2 separate regions of the Homo sapiens genome follow, and region 1 is linked to region 2. Evidence: promoter capture Hi-C in human tissues and cell types (Jung and others, 2019). All regions are on one chromosome and are shown on one strand. Each heading gives the region's core, a stretch centred on a gene start or on the middle of the fragment in contact. The rest is flanking DNA. Distances are from core to core; before and after follow the strand shown. Region 1 has its middle 53 kb from the start of CRACR2A. Region 2 holds the start of TSPAN9 (tetraspanin 9).

Region 1 (5,998 bases), core at 1,647-4,146, 730 kb after region 2:
CATGCCACTGCAGTGTGACTTCTCCCAGACTAGCAGGGGTTTACTCATGGCCCCACAGAGGCCCTTCTCCTGGAACACGGCAGCCAGCAGTGATTATTGTATCTAAGTCTTGAGCAACTAGCATATGTCAGACACTGTGCTAAGTGCTCCATATACTCACACAGCCTCAGGTAATTCTCACAACAGCATTAAACTGTGAGGAAAGAGCAGTTCTGAGAAGCCGGTCAACTTCTGCAAGGCTACACGGCTAGAAAGCAGCAAATCTGGGTCTGTTGCCAGGATCACCTGACTCTAAAACCTGTGTTTTATTAGAACACATTGCTTTTCAAACACAAAATCCTGACACACACCTTTCACAATACTACTCTCCTGCTACAAAAATTCTTTAAATGAACAATATCAGTGCCAAGATCTTGCATATATGGCGGCAGCACAACACGATTACACTGGAAGATAGATCACTAGACTGGGAATCACACTGCCTGGGGTCTCTGCCTGGTTCTGACATGGAAACGTGATCGCAGGCATTCAGTTCTTCCTGTCTTCCACAGTCACAAATTGGCCTCACCTCAATTTTGTAGGAAGAGTATAAAAATTATACCTTTAAAATATTTGTGGTATACCATTTCAAGTCCTAAGACTTTGAGAGAAGGACTTCAGAAACATCTGGAGTTGATACGCCCCCTGTTTCAATTTGAAGCTAAGTTTATGGCCCATCTTTTCTGACACACATTTTTTTAAAAAGAGCATAGAATATCATATCTCAGAGGGCATATTGTGTTCTGAGGTGTTAACTTTACAATGTTAAGAACCCGAGTTCTTAACCCGAACCCCCAAGGAAGACAAAACTTGGGGGCTCCATAACTCAAGCATGATGGAGAACACAGCCAGGAGGTAGTGCCAGAGGTAAATAAGAAGCTGGGGAGTACAGCCAGAAGCACGTTAGGGGATTCAGAATCTTTCTGGCAAGGTGAGGGATGGGTGGATGGGTGAGCTGAAGGAGTAAGGTTGACAGGGAACTCACTGGTAACAGTCTTTCTGCGCACGGCCTCAGAAAATGGCCAACGATCTTTTTCTAAATTAACTTAAATTAATGCGACTTCACCTGAAGAAAGAAGGAAAACAGATTAGATGACAGTATGTGGCACGGTTATTTAGGAAGAATTTTCACCAGGCAAAATTCTAAAATAATAGACTAGGTTCCTATTGGGAAGATGTGTCCTTTTCCTAGCAGTTACTATAAACGGGATAAATACCTATGTCGGTGGATTTGACCAGGGGTTGTCCCACCTGGTGGCAGGGACTAGATAACTTCTGGAAGGTCCTTTGACCCTGCTCTCTAAAATGCAGCTATGAACTCAGCGCCCAGTTTGTTGTGCCAGTTCCGAAGCAAGATGCTGCCACCTAGCGTCTGCTGTTCTCACACGCAGTAGCACCTAACTGCCTACATACACTTTCATTAGAAAAGCCCTGATAATGTAGTCTGTCCTTCAGTCGGACAAAACAGGCCTAAACACTAAATCCATGTGGAAAATGGAATCAACATTAAATTATTTGTTAAACTAAAATATTCTTTTGAGAAGAATGTAAGAGCAGTCAGCACAGCAAGGAATCATGAAAATCCAGAGTTCACCTACATTGCCCGTGGGTCAACTACGTAAACAGCTAGAGAACATGCAGGGAACTCGTTCTGAGTGTCTTTAATGTATAGATATAGACCCAAGCAGTGGAATATACGAGGAAAGAAATTATAGATCAAGGCCGGGCGCGGTGGCTCAAGCCTGTAATCCCAGCACTTTGGGAGGCCAAGGTGGGCGGACCATGAGGTCAGGAGATAGAGACCATCCTGGCTAACACGGTGAAACCCCGTCTCTACTAAAAATACAAAAAAATTAGCCAGGTGGTGACAGGCGCCTGTAGTCCCAGCTACTCAGGAGGCTGAGGCAGGAGAATGGCGTGAACCCAGGAGGCGAAGGTTGCAGTGAGCCGAGATCGCACCACTGCACTCCAGCCTGGGTGACAGAGCGAGACTCCGTTTCACAAAAAAAAAAAAAAAAAAAGAAAGAAAAGAAAAGAAAAAGAAATTATAGATCAAGGTAAGAACCAATTTTCTAGCATTCAGAATTGTCTACAGCATGTAGTATTTCCTAATCATTGAAAGTATCCAGTACAAGCTGGAATACTTGTGGGAAAGCTGAAGAAGGCATTTAAACTAGCAAAACGGTTAACTGAAACACAATTTTATCCAAGACTTCTTATCCAAGACTTGGAGAACCTTGAAGGCAGAGATTTCACTACTGTGTCCTGTGTTTAGGATCGTGCCTGGTATGGAGTACAGGTACCCACTTGCTGGTTTGTTGAATGAGTAAATACATTCTCTTACAATTTCCCAGGAGGAAGAAAAGTAGCCCAAACAAAAGTTAGACAAGTTGAGAACAAAAAGAACAGCCTCTGACATTTAGAAACTGGCCTGGTACTCACAGCTAAGGCATGTTATTCTGATGAACCTAAACTATCTCACAGAAAACCAACCTCTGACAAGGTTATTCTGAGACCACAATAAAATGAGACAAAACAAGGTCATTTCATAATTGTGTCTAAGAACAGACAAAAATAAGGTCACTGTGCCACCCACAGAATACCAACCACTTCTCTCAGCCAGATGAGCAACTGCTTCTGCTTTGCTAATTACAGCTTATCCTCAGCTAGACTTCCCTCTCTATAGATAAGATTTATGAACATGCCAAATCATAGAATTGCCCCTGCTTTCTGACGGCATCCAATTAGAGTGAAATCCTAACTCCTCAGACCCTTCCCCATATCCCCAAAGCCCAAACCCTACAAAAGCTTTTCTTGCACCCTCCTACCGGGACACCCCATAGTTCCTCAGGGTGTGTGTGCTCTCTGGCTGCCATGAGTAATAAACCTAATTTGTTTAACTTACAGGGTTGCTCCTGGTGGTCTTTGGCCAAAGGGCACTGACCAAGTAAATGCTAAGAAAAAAAAAAGTTATGTCCCTACTTCCAAGTACACTATAAATACTGTATGAATCCTAGCTTGTGAGGGTTGTATTAGGTATAGAAGACTTCTTGAAAGACGAGGGGCCTTACGTATTAATACCCACCAGCATTTACTGAGGCTTCGTGCCGGGCATCATCCCAAACACTTCACAAGTATTACTTCATCCAGTTCTCACAACAACCCTCTAGGGTAGACACTATTATTATCACCACTTTATAGATGAGGAAACAGCAGCACAGAGAGCTTAAGCAACCTGCTCAAGTGAAACAGGTGGTAAAGGGTGGCGCCAGGAATCAACGTGGACGTCTGACTCCAGAGCCCATGCTTCAAATAGAGTTTTCAAGAGGGAGGAATATGACTGTGTGTTCTAGGGAGAGGCAAAAAGGCATAAGCAAAGGCATGGGGGCCAAGAAGGAACTCCTTTACCCAACAAGCTTCTTGATTCCCTTAAACTGTATAAAATCTTCACAATCCCTTCTCCACATACCCCTTACTGCTGGGTCCTGGTTCCCTTAAGGCTGACCCCAGGACCAGGCGCAGGGGTTTGGGGCAACACAATTTGAATGGTTTTGATTCTGTCATCTTTGTTTTAATGATAAAAACAATGTTCCAACTTTGCTTCTACCCCTATCTGGTTTTTCTCATCTCTCCAAAGCCTGATATGGCACAGATGGGTGTGGCTGGGGGACATAAAATCCTCCTTCCCTTAATTAACATCTACTTATCTTTCTATCTTCACATTCAAATGTCACTCCCCAGGAAAGCCTTCCCTAATTCCTGAGGACAGGTGAAATCCCTCTGTCAGAGCCTCACAGTGGCCTGAACTTCCCCTTCAGGAAAGTTCATCACTCTTGTCATTACAGTTCATTATGTCTTCCCTGCTAGACTTTAAGTTCCATGAGAGCAGAGGCCATGTCTGACTTGTTCAGTCCCTGGCACGCCACAAGAATTCAGAGCTGTGAACTAGAAAGGGAGTGGGGAAACTAATTAGTGGCAGAGTTTCATGGACAACCAGGTCCATTCTTTTTCCTTCCTACTGCAAGCCCTTGCTTCTTCTCAATGCATCATGATCCCTGCTATTGTATTTTCCCGACCCAAACTCAAAAATCATCTTCAGTCAGGTCAGATGTTGCCTAGGAAAATCTAGCTGTGCTCCGTCAGGTCTTTTTCTCTCAACGAGAGTCTGATTGGTCTATCATAAACTTCACCTTCTGAAAAGTGAACCTTCCCTCTCTGGTGAGTTATCCAAGGTCACACTGAATCAGACAGCAAAGCCAGGAATAAAATTCAGATCAGCTGGCTCCCAAGTTGAGGCTTGATCTTCTTCTTATAGGAATAAAGTGGAGGAAATGAGCTTGCACGCTGATTCTCTGAGACTGTTCATCAAACGTGGGCTTATAATGCCTACAGCTTCCACATGTTATCTAGGAGACATTAAAGCATAATGAGCCCTTCAGGAAAAGGTATTTTTAAAAAGGAAAACACAAGTGCAGTCTGGATGTATAATCAATATTGCAAAGATGATTTCATTAAATTCTGGATGGTGACTCTCCTTAAGTTGGTTTACAATCATGAAGTCAGCATAAGCCACAGAATCAGAATCAGCTTACCGTATAACCTCTTGGTAGAGGGTCCAGCAATGCTAAGAAGCTGCAGAAAACACAAATGTCTTTGGCATAAAACCTATGCTCCAATCTTATGAAAAGCCACTTAAAAATAAGTAAGACAGTGTCTAAATTCTTAGATACGCAGCCACACGGTGAGAGAATTCAAATAGCCAGGTGCTTGGCCTGTAGTGCTGACAAATGGAAGCCAAGCAATTAAAGCTGAGAAAATGGGTTACAAAATCTTACAGCAGGAGACTCAGATCAGTTACAAGGAATTTACTGTTTGGGTTTAGAAATAACTGAGACATCCTTTTACCTGAGATGGATCAAGTAGAGCTCAATATAGGAAGGAGACAGGAGGAAAGAGAGAGATGTAAGTCCCCAAACCACCTTCCATCCTAGAGTTTCTGAAGACATGAGAAGTAAACTACCACTGCTAAAAAGTCAAGGTTAAAACATGAACTTTCAACTTCTCTCCTGGATATTCAGGGCTCACCTCTCCCGGCATATATTACTCACACTAATCAGGCAGCCCGCAAATAATTATGTATTTCATAGTTCTTTGAAATGTTCATTTCTTCCATCTGTGTTGCCCCAAGTAACATTATGAAATGATTCATAAGAAAGTGTGGCAGACTATCTCGTATCACCAAAACTCTTCCTGCATAGAGTGCAAAGGGATAAAAATAACTAAAATCACTTTGTTAAAGTTTCTAATCAACACTAATTTTTGACAAGGGTCTTTTTTTTCCTTTCCGTGCTATTTTTCATTACCTTTTATCTCTTTTACAAGTACAGAGTGTATAATTTCATCTAGAAATTGACTGTCTCGTTGTTTTAAGCAAAAGAAAATATTTTAAAATAAACAAATAATCCTTAAGGAGAGTGGAAAATCTGGAGGCGACACAACTAGGATCACCATAAGATTGTTTCTCGTGTTATTCCTAGCAATTTGGGAGGTAATCACAAACACTCGAATGGCTAGGGAACAGAATTTGGAAGGATGTGGCTCTTCTAGATCAACAATCAAAGCTCAATTGAATTTTTATCACAATGAGTCAATCATTCTGCCCCTCATTTCTCTCAGTTCTAACCTGAGGAGAGCCTTTGATACCATCCTTTCTTGCCAAAGGTTGAACGGAATGTTTAACTCAGTTCAACAGGAATGATGGTAGACACAGTGCGAGTGGCTGGAGGTTAGATGGGCTGTAGGAAGGATACTCCTTGGATGAAGGCAGACACACCCTACAGAGCTGTTCCGCTGAGCCAGGGGAGCACACCAAGAATAAAAAATGCTGCAGATGCCAACTCTTGGCCTGTTTGGGGATTTTTTTTTATAATAGCACACAGTAAATGATTTTTCCCATAGG
Region 2 (6,254 bases), core at 1,473-3,972:
CTTTTTTTAAAGGGCAGGAGGACTTTGGGAGGCCAAGGTGGGAGGATTGCTTGAGGCCAGGAGTTCAAAACTAGCTTGAGCAACATAGTGAGGCCTCTGTCTCTACAAAACAAAACGAAAACGAAAACAAAAACAAAAACAAAACAAACAAAAACCCCAATTAGCTGGGTATGGTGGCATGCACGTGTGGTCCCAGCTACTTAGGAGTCTGAGGTTGGAGGATCCTTGAGTCCAGGAGTTGGAGGCTGCAGTGAGCCATGATGGCACCACTGCCCTCCAGCCTGGGTGGCAGAACAAGTCCCTGTCTCAAAAACAACAAAACAAAACAAAAACCAAAAAGGGCAGGAGGAAGCTAGCATTTGTAGAGCAGTCACCACACATCACATGTTGTGCTTTTACTCCATCATCTTGGTCAGCCCATCAACCCTGTGGAATTGGTTTTTTTTTTTTTTTTTTTTTGAGACAGTCTCGCTCTGTCGACCAGGCTGGAGTGCAGTGGCACGATCTTGGCTCACTGCAACCTCCGTCTCCCAGGCTCAAGCAATTCTCCTGCCTCAGCCCTCCGAGTAGCTGGGATTACAGGCATGTGCCACCACACCCGGCTAATTTTTGTATTTTTAGTGGAGACGGGGTTTCACCATGTTGGCCAGGCTGGTCTCAAACTCCTGATCTCAGGTAATCCACCCGCCTCGGCCTCCCTAAGTACTGGGATTACAGGTGTGAGCCACCATGCCCATCCCCATAATTGGTATTCTTATGCCCCATTCCACAGGTGAGAAAACAGGCCTGAAGAGGTCCCAGCCGATAAAAGCAGAGCCAGGATTCAGACAGGTGTGTCTGGCTCCCAAGCCCTGCGGCTACTCCCTCACCAGGCTGCGTCCAATGGTCTGCCAGTGAGTTGGCTTGCTGGCAGACAATCCTAGTATATCTCTTTCCCTGTCTGAGACCCAGTTTCCTTTTCTGGGTACATGTACCCAACTCTGCCGCAGTGACTGGAGAGATTGGGGCTGGTGGGGGTTCCTTGGGAAGACTTTGTTATAGGGGCATTGAACAGGGCTTTGGATGAAGCAAAATGTAGAAGGAGAATATTTTCCTTGTGGGGAAAGGGAGATCAGAAGGAAATGGGTTATGGGTTTAGTCTAATAGACAAAAACAAGGTTGCATGTGTGTGACGGAAAGGGGCCCAGAAGATGAGTGGAAACTTCCAGTCTAATTAGCAGAAAGCAAAAGTGACCCTAGTGATTATAGCCAGGTTTTAAAAACTTGTCCCCAGTCAAGCTTAGTGCAATGGTAGGGCACGTGGGAAGCACAGCATACAGTTTCTTTAAAATTTAAAAAAATTTCACTTTTAAAGACAGGGTCTCCCTCTACTGCCCAGGCTGGAGTACAGTGGCATGATCCTAGTTTACTGCAGCCTCCAACGCCTGAGCCTCAGCCTCCGGAGCAGCTGGGACTACAGGGGTGTGCCACCACACCCGGTTAATTAAAACATTTTTTTTTTGAGATGGGGTTTCCCTATGTTGCCCAGGCTGTTCTTGAATTCCTGAGTTCCTGAGCTCAAGCAATCCTTCCACCTGGGCCCCCCAAAGTCCTGGGATTACACGCGTGAGCCACCACACCTGGCCTAGAAGACATTTTTGATGACAGTAATGATGAGAAGAGATGGCGTTTTAGTGCTCTTTGGAAACAAGTTTAGGCCTTCTAGCTTTAAGAATCCGGGCCTATAATCCCAGCACTTTGGGAGGCAGAGGCAGGAGGATGGCTTGAGCCCGGGAGTTTGAGACCAGCTTGGGCCCAGGGAGACCACCGTCTGTACAAAAAAAATCAAAAACTTCGCCGGACGTGGTGGTGCGCGCCTACAGTCCCAACTACTCTGGAGGCTGAGGCGGGATCACTTGAGCCCGGGAAGTCGAGGCTGCAGTGAGCCGTGATCGCACCACTGCACTCCTGCCTGGGCAACAGAGTGAGTCCTTGTCTCAAGAAAAAACAAAACAAAACAAAAAGCAAAAAACACATAAAATCCAGGCCTGAAAAAGCGCCCGGGCCAGACATGCCTAGCTGGAGTTTCTCCTGCCTTAGCGCACCCCTCAGGCACACGGTGCCCTGTAGTCGCCCTTGGAGGCCGCCAGCTCCTGGGGAGGCATGGCCCTTTCTGCGGGAGGTGTCTCAGGCAGGCTCCAACACACACCCGCGCTGTCAGCATCTCGCACAGTCCGCCCGAAACACCAGGGAAGGGGTTCGTAGGTGTGGGGGTGGGGTGGCGAGGCCAGGCAGCCTGGCGCGAGGGAGAGAGCCGAGGCCTGGGCCAGGAAGGCCCTTGGGTGCCGTGTGGGCGCAGAGCCCAGGAGAGCGCACTGCCAGGCCCGGACCTCCCCGCCCCTACCCCGGGAAGAGGCCCGTTCGCCGCAGGGGGAAGGCGGGATCATAGCACCTCGGAGGAGCGGCCGGTCCGGGCATGCGGGCGGCGGGGCGGGGAGGGAGGCTTCCGGAACCCCGAGAGAGCACCCGTGCCTCGCGGGCCCCGTGCCCCGTCCCCGGGCTCCCCTTCCTCTAACGCAGGGGACCCAGCCCGGGGCAGTGCCGGGCACTGGCGCTGGCGCCCCGCTCAGCCCTGCGATCCTTCTCCGCCCCGCCCCTCCCCGCTCCGCCCCGCCCCTCCCCGCTCCGCCCCCGGGCCGCCCCGCCCCGCAGGCTCGCCATTCCCGGGCAGGCCCCGCCCCCTGTTTCCGCTGGCGGCGGCGGCGGCGGCGGTGCCGGAGCGCGAGCAGAGCGGAGACCCCCAGGTCCTGCGGGCGCGGTGAGTGCGGCCCGGGCGGCGGGCGGCGAGGCGGGTCTCGAGAGCGTGCGGAGTCGCGCGGCCTTGAGCCGGCGCCGGGCGGGCTGGGCACCCCCAGGCCGAGACCCGAGAAGGGGGAGCGGCCGGGGGCGCCCACGGGAGGCAGTGTGGGCAGGGCGGCGGTGGGACGAGAGGACGAGGAACAGAGTAGGCGCCGTGCGGGAAGCGGGCCGGGAAGGGGAGGGTGGGTGCGGGGCCCGGGCACCGAGCGAAGTGGGGTCCTCCAGGGGATGGCTCCGAGGAAGACCGTTTCAGAAAGGGAGTAACCCGGGGCCGGCAAGGGTTTCCGACTGTGTGACCCCGTGCACCGCTTGGGACAGTCCATACAAGGACCCCAGAGAGGGCCAGGGGGCCTTCGGGCAGGGCTGGGATATGGCCTGCAGCCCCCCGGCACCCGCGACCGCTCCCTGGGCCACTGCTGGAAGATCAGCACTCCGAGTGACAGGACTCTGGCACATCCCGAAGTTGGAGATCTAGCCCATCTGTGCATTCAAGTTTGGGACTTCAAAAAACTTTCTTGTGGTTTTTAAAAAAAGATCCAAACAAGAAACCGGCTTGTTGTTGTAAGAGCAATATTTGTACTTGTACATCTTGGAACTGGAGTCTTGGATCTCCTCCCTCTTTGAAAAATATACGAGTCACTGCTTCATCTTCCCCCAAATGCCTGTTTTGTCTGGGGAAGCTTGGGCTAGTATGGGATCCCCTGAGCTACCTTTTTCTCGCATCACCAAAACGGGGGGTAAGAAGGCAGGGGCTTACCTGCCTTACCTGGTAACTCTTAGTTCAGAGACCCAGTCTCTCATTATGTGCGCGTGCCCTTCTGACCTGCAGCTGTCCTTTTCCCTGGGGTGACTCAGGTATTTCCTCCTCCAGGAAGCTTTCCTGGACTAGTGGAGAAAACTGAAGACTCATGCGAGGATCCCTATATATACCTGCCAGCTCCCTTCTCTTTACTGAAAATAGCCACAGAGAATGTTGAATATATGCTTTGCTATAGAGATACGCAGCCAGCTTGCCATCATAAGTAATGGGGAGGGGAGGAGAGGGATTATGGATAATTTCAAACAATAGCCTGGACAAATCATTTATATTTAGCTAAGGAATGCAGCCAGAGAGGCAGACAATTACACCGGCTTCCTACCCTCGGCTTGGTCCTGGCATGGCTGATGCAGCTGGGCTGTGGGTTGGAGGGAGAGGATTGGGGTAGATAAAACTTGAAGTGTAATTCAGTTCTACTCTCACTCACTGAAGACGCCCTGTGTGCAAGTCCCTGAACAGGTGAGAGTAGGATTTTTTTTTTTTTGGTCTGGTTTAATCAGATTTTAATATTCTGGCAGAGCTTTTTAAACCTATGAACAGATATTTAATATTAATAACAATAACTAGTGTTGATAAAGTAATTTATAGTTGGCCAAGTTTTTTCTATGCACGTTACATTAGCTGTATATAATTTTATTTAATTCATACGTAATCTTGTGAAATTTGTTACTTTTTTTTTTTTTTTTGAGACAGAGTCTCACTCTGTTGCCCAGGCTGGAGTGCAGTGGCAGGATCTCAGCTCACTGCAACCCCCGCGTCCCAGGTTCAAGCCATTCTCCTGCCTCAGCCTCCCGAGTAGCTGGGATTACAGGCGCGTGCCGCCACGCCTTCTAATTTTTGTATTTTTAGTAGAGATGAGGTTTTGCCATGTTGACCAGGCTGGTCTTGAACTCCTGACCTCAAGTGATCCACCTGCCTTGGCCTCCCACAGTGCTGGGATTATAGGCGTGAGCCACCGCATTGGCTGAAGTTTGTTACTTTTAATTGCCTTCTTATAGGTTAAGAAAATGATACTCAGAGAGAATAAGTATCTTATCTAAGGTCACAACACTCATTAAGTGAAAGAAGCAAAACTTGAACCCTGGCTTCTGACCTTCCTGCCTTGTGCCATCTATTCTGCCATCTGCCTCTCTGCCCTTCTTCTATTTTATTTATTTATTTTTTTCTGAGACAGACTTTTGCTTTTGTTGCCCAGGCTGGAGTGCGATGGCACTATCTCGGCTCACTGCAACCTCTGCCTACTGGGTTCAAGTGATTCTCCTGCCTCAACCTCCCAAGTAACTGGGATTACAGGTGCCCGCCACCACACCTGGCTAATTTTTGTATTTTTAGTAGAGATGGAGTTTCGCCATGTTGGCCAGACTGGTCTCAAACTCCTGACCTCAGGTGATCCGCCTGCCTTGGCCTCCCAAAGTGCTGGGATTACAGGCATGAACCACCGTACTTAGCCCCTTCTTCTATTTTTTTTTTTTTTTTTTAGAGACAGGGTCTTGCTTTGTTGCCTGGGCTGGAGCACAGGGACACAAGCAGCTCACTGCAGCCTCCAACTCCTGGGCTCAAGTGATCCTCCCACCTTAGCCTCCCGAGTAGCTGGGACTATAGGTACAGGCCCCATGCTCAGATAATTAAAAAAATTTTTTTTTTTTTTTTGGTAGAGACAGGGTTGTGCTATGTTGCCCAGGCTGGTCTCTGGTCTTGAACTCCTGGCCTCAAGCAATTCTCCTACCTTGGCCTCCCAAAGTGTTGGGATTACAGGCGTGAGCCACCACGCCCAGCCCCTTTCCTCTATGTTGAGCCTTGTCTTCACCTGGCACCACCTATTTGTGCAACCTTGGGCAATTTACCTCCTCTTTCCAACTCTCTGTTTTGGTGGTATATTGGATTAGAAATATTCTAGAGTCTCTTCCAGCATCAGATAATTAACAGTGTAAGATATTGGCAGCCACTCAATCAATTAGGAAGTGTGCTTTATATAAAAAATTCTAAAATTGTGGTTAAAAAAACACTGAATGTAAAATCTTTTTTTTGTTGTTGTTGTTTTTGAGATGGAGTCTCACTCTGTCGCCCAGGCTGGAGTGCAGTGGCATAATCACAGCTCACTGCAACCTCCGCCTCCCGGGTTCAAGCAATTCTCTGCCTCAGCCTCCCCAGTAGCTGGGACTACAGGCGCCCGCCATCACCCTCGGCTAAATTTTGTATTTTTTTTAGTAGAGACGGGGTTTCACCATGTTGGCCAGGCTGGTCTTGAACTCCTGACCTCATGATCCACCCTCCTCGGCCCCAAAAAGTGCTGGGATTACAAGCATGAGCCACCGCGCCTGGCAAATGTAAAATCTTAAGTGTACATTTTAACCATTCTTAAATGTACAGTTCAGTAGCATTAAGTCTATTTACATTGTTGTGCGACAGCTCCAGAAATTACCTTGTAAAACTGAAGCTTTAATATTCTTGAAACAACTGTTTCCCCCTCCTCCCAGCCTCTGGCAGCCACTATTCTGTCTGTTTAGTGTGCTTTATTAAGCTCCTGCTGTGTGCTTAGTAAATGCTGACCTTGAGGAATTAATCGGGAGAGTTGTGGAGAAGCAGCCCAGCTTAGGTG

The links. The method cuts DNA at HindIII sites, captures the fragments that hold promoters and counts their contacts. A contact is called where the count stands out against the background at its distance.
Region 1: a fragment that was not itself captured here is called in contact with the fragment with the promoter of TSPAN9 in region 2 in 1 of the 25 tissues and cell types used here (dorsolateral prefrontal cortex).

Annotation. Positions count from the first base shown.
Region 1 is chr12:3,802,659-3,808,656 of GRCh38, forward strand. No RefSeq gene overlaps it. Among named protein-coding and RNA genes, the nearest start is that of CRACR2A, 53 kb to the left of the region's middle. The HindIII fragment of the contact is 5,252 bases long and covers 271-5,522 here.
Region 2 is chr12:3,074,657-3,080,910 of GRCh38, forward strand. It overlaps TSPAN9 (tetraspanin 9), which reads left to right and starts at 2,723. Exons shown (of 9, transcript NM_006675.5): 1 at 2,723-2,797. RefSeq lists silencers at 2,229-2,278, 2,329-2,828. The HindIII fragment of the contact is 4,780 bases long and covers 123-4,902 here.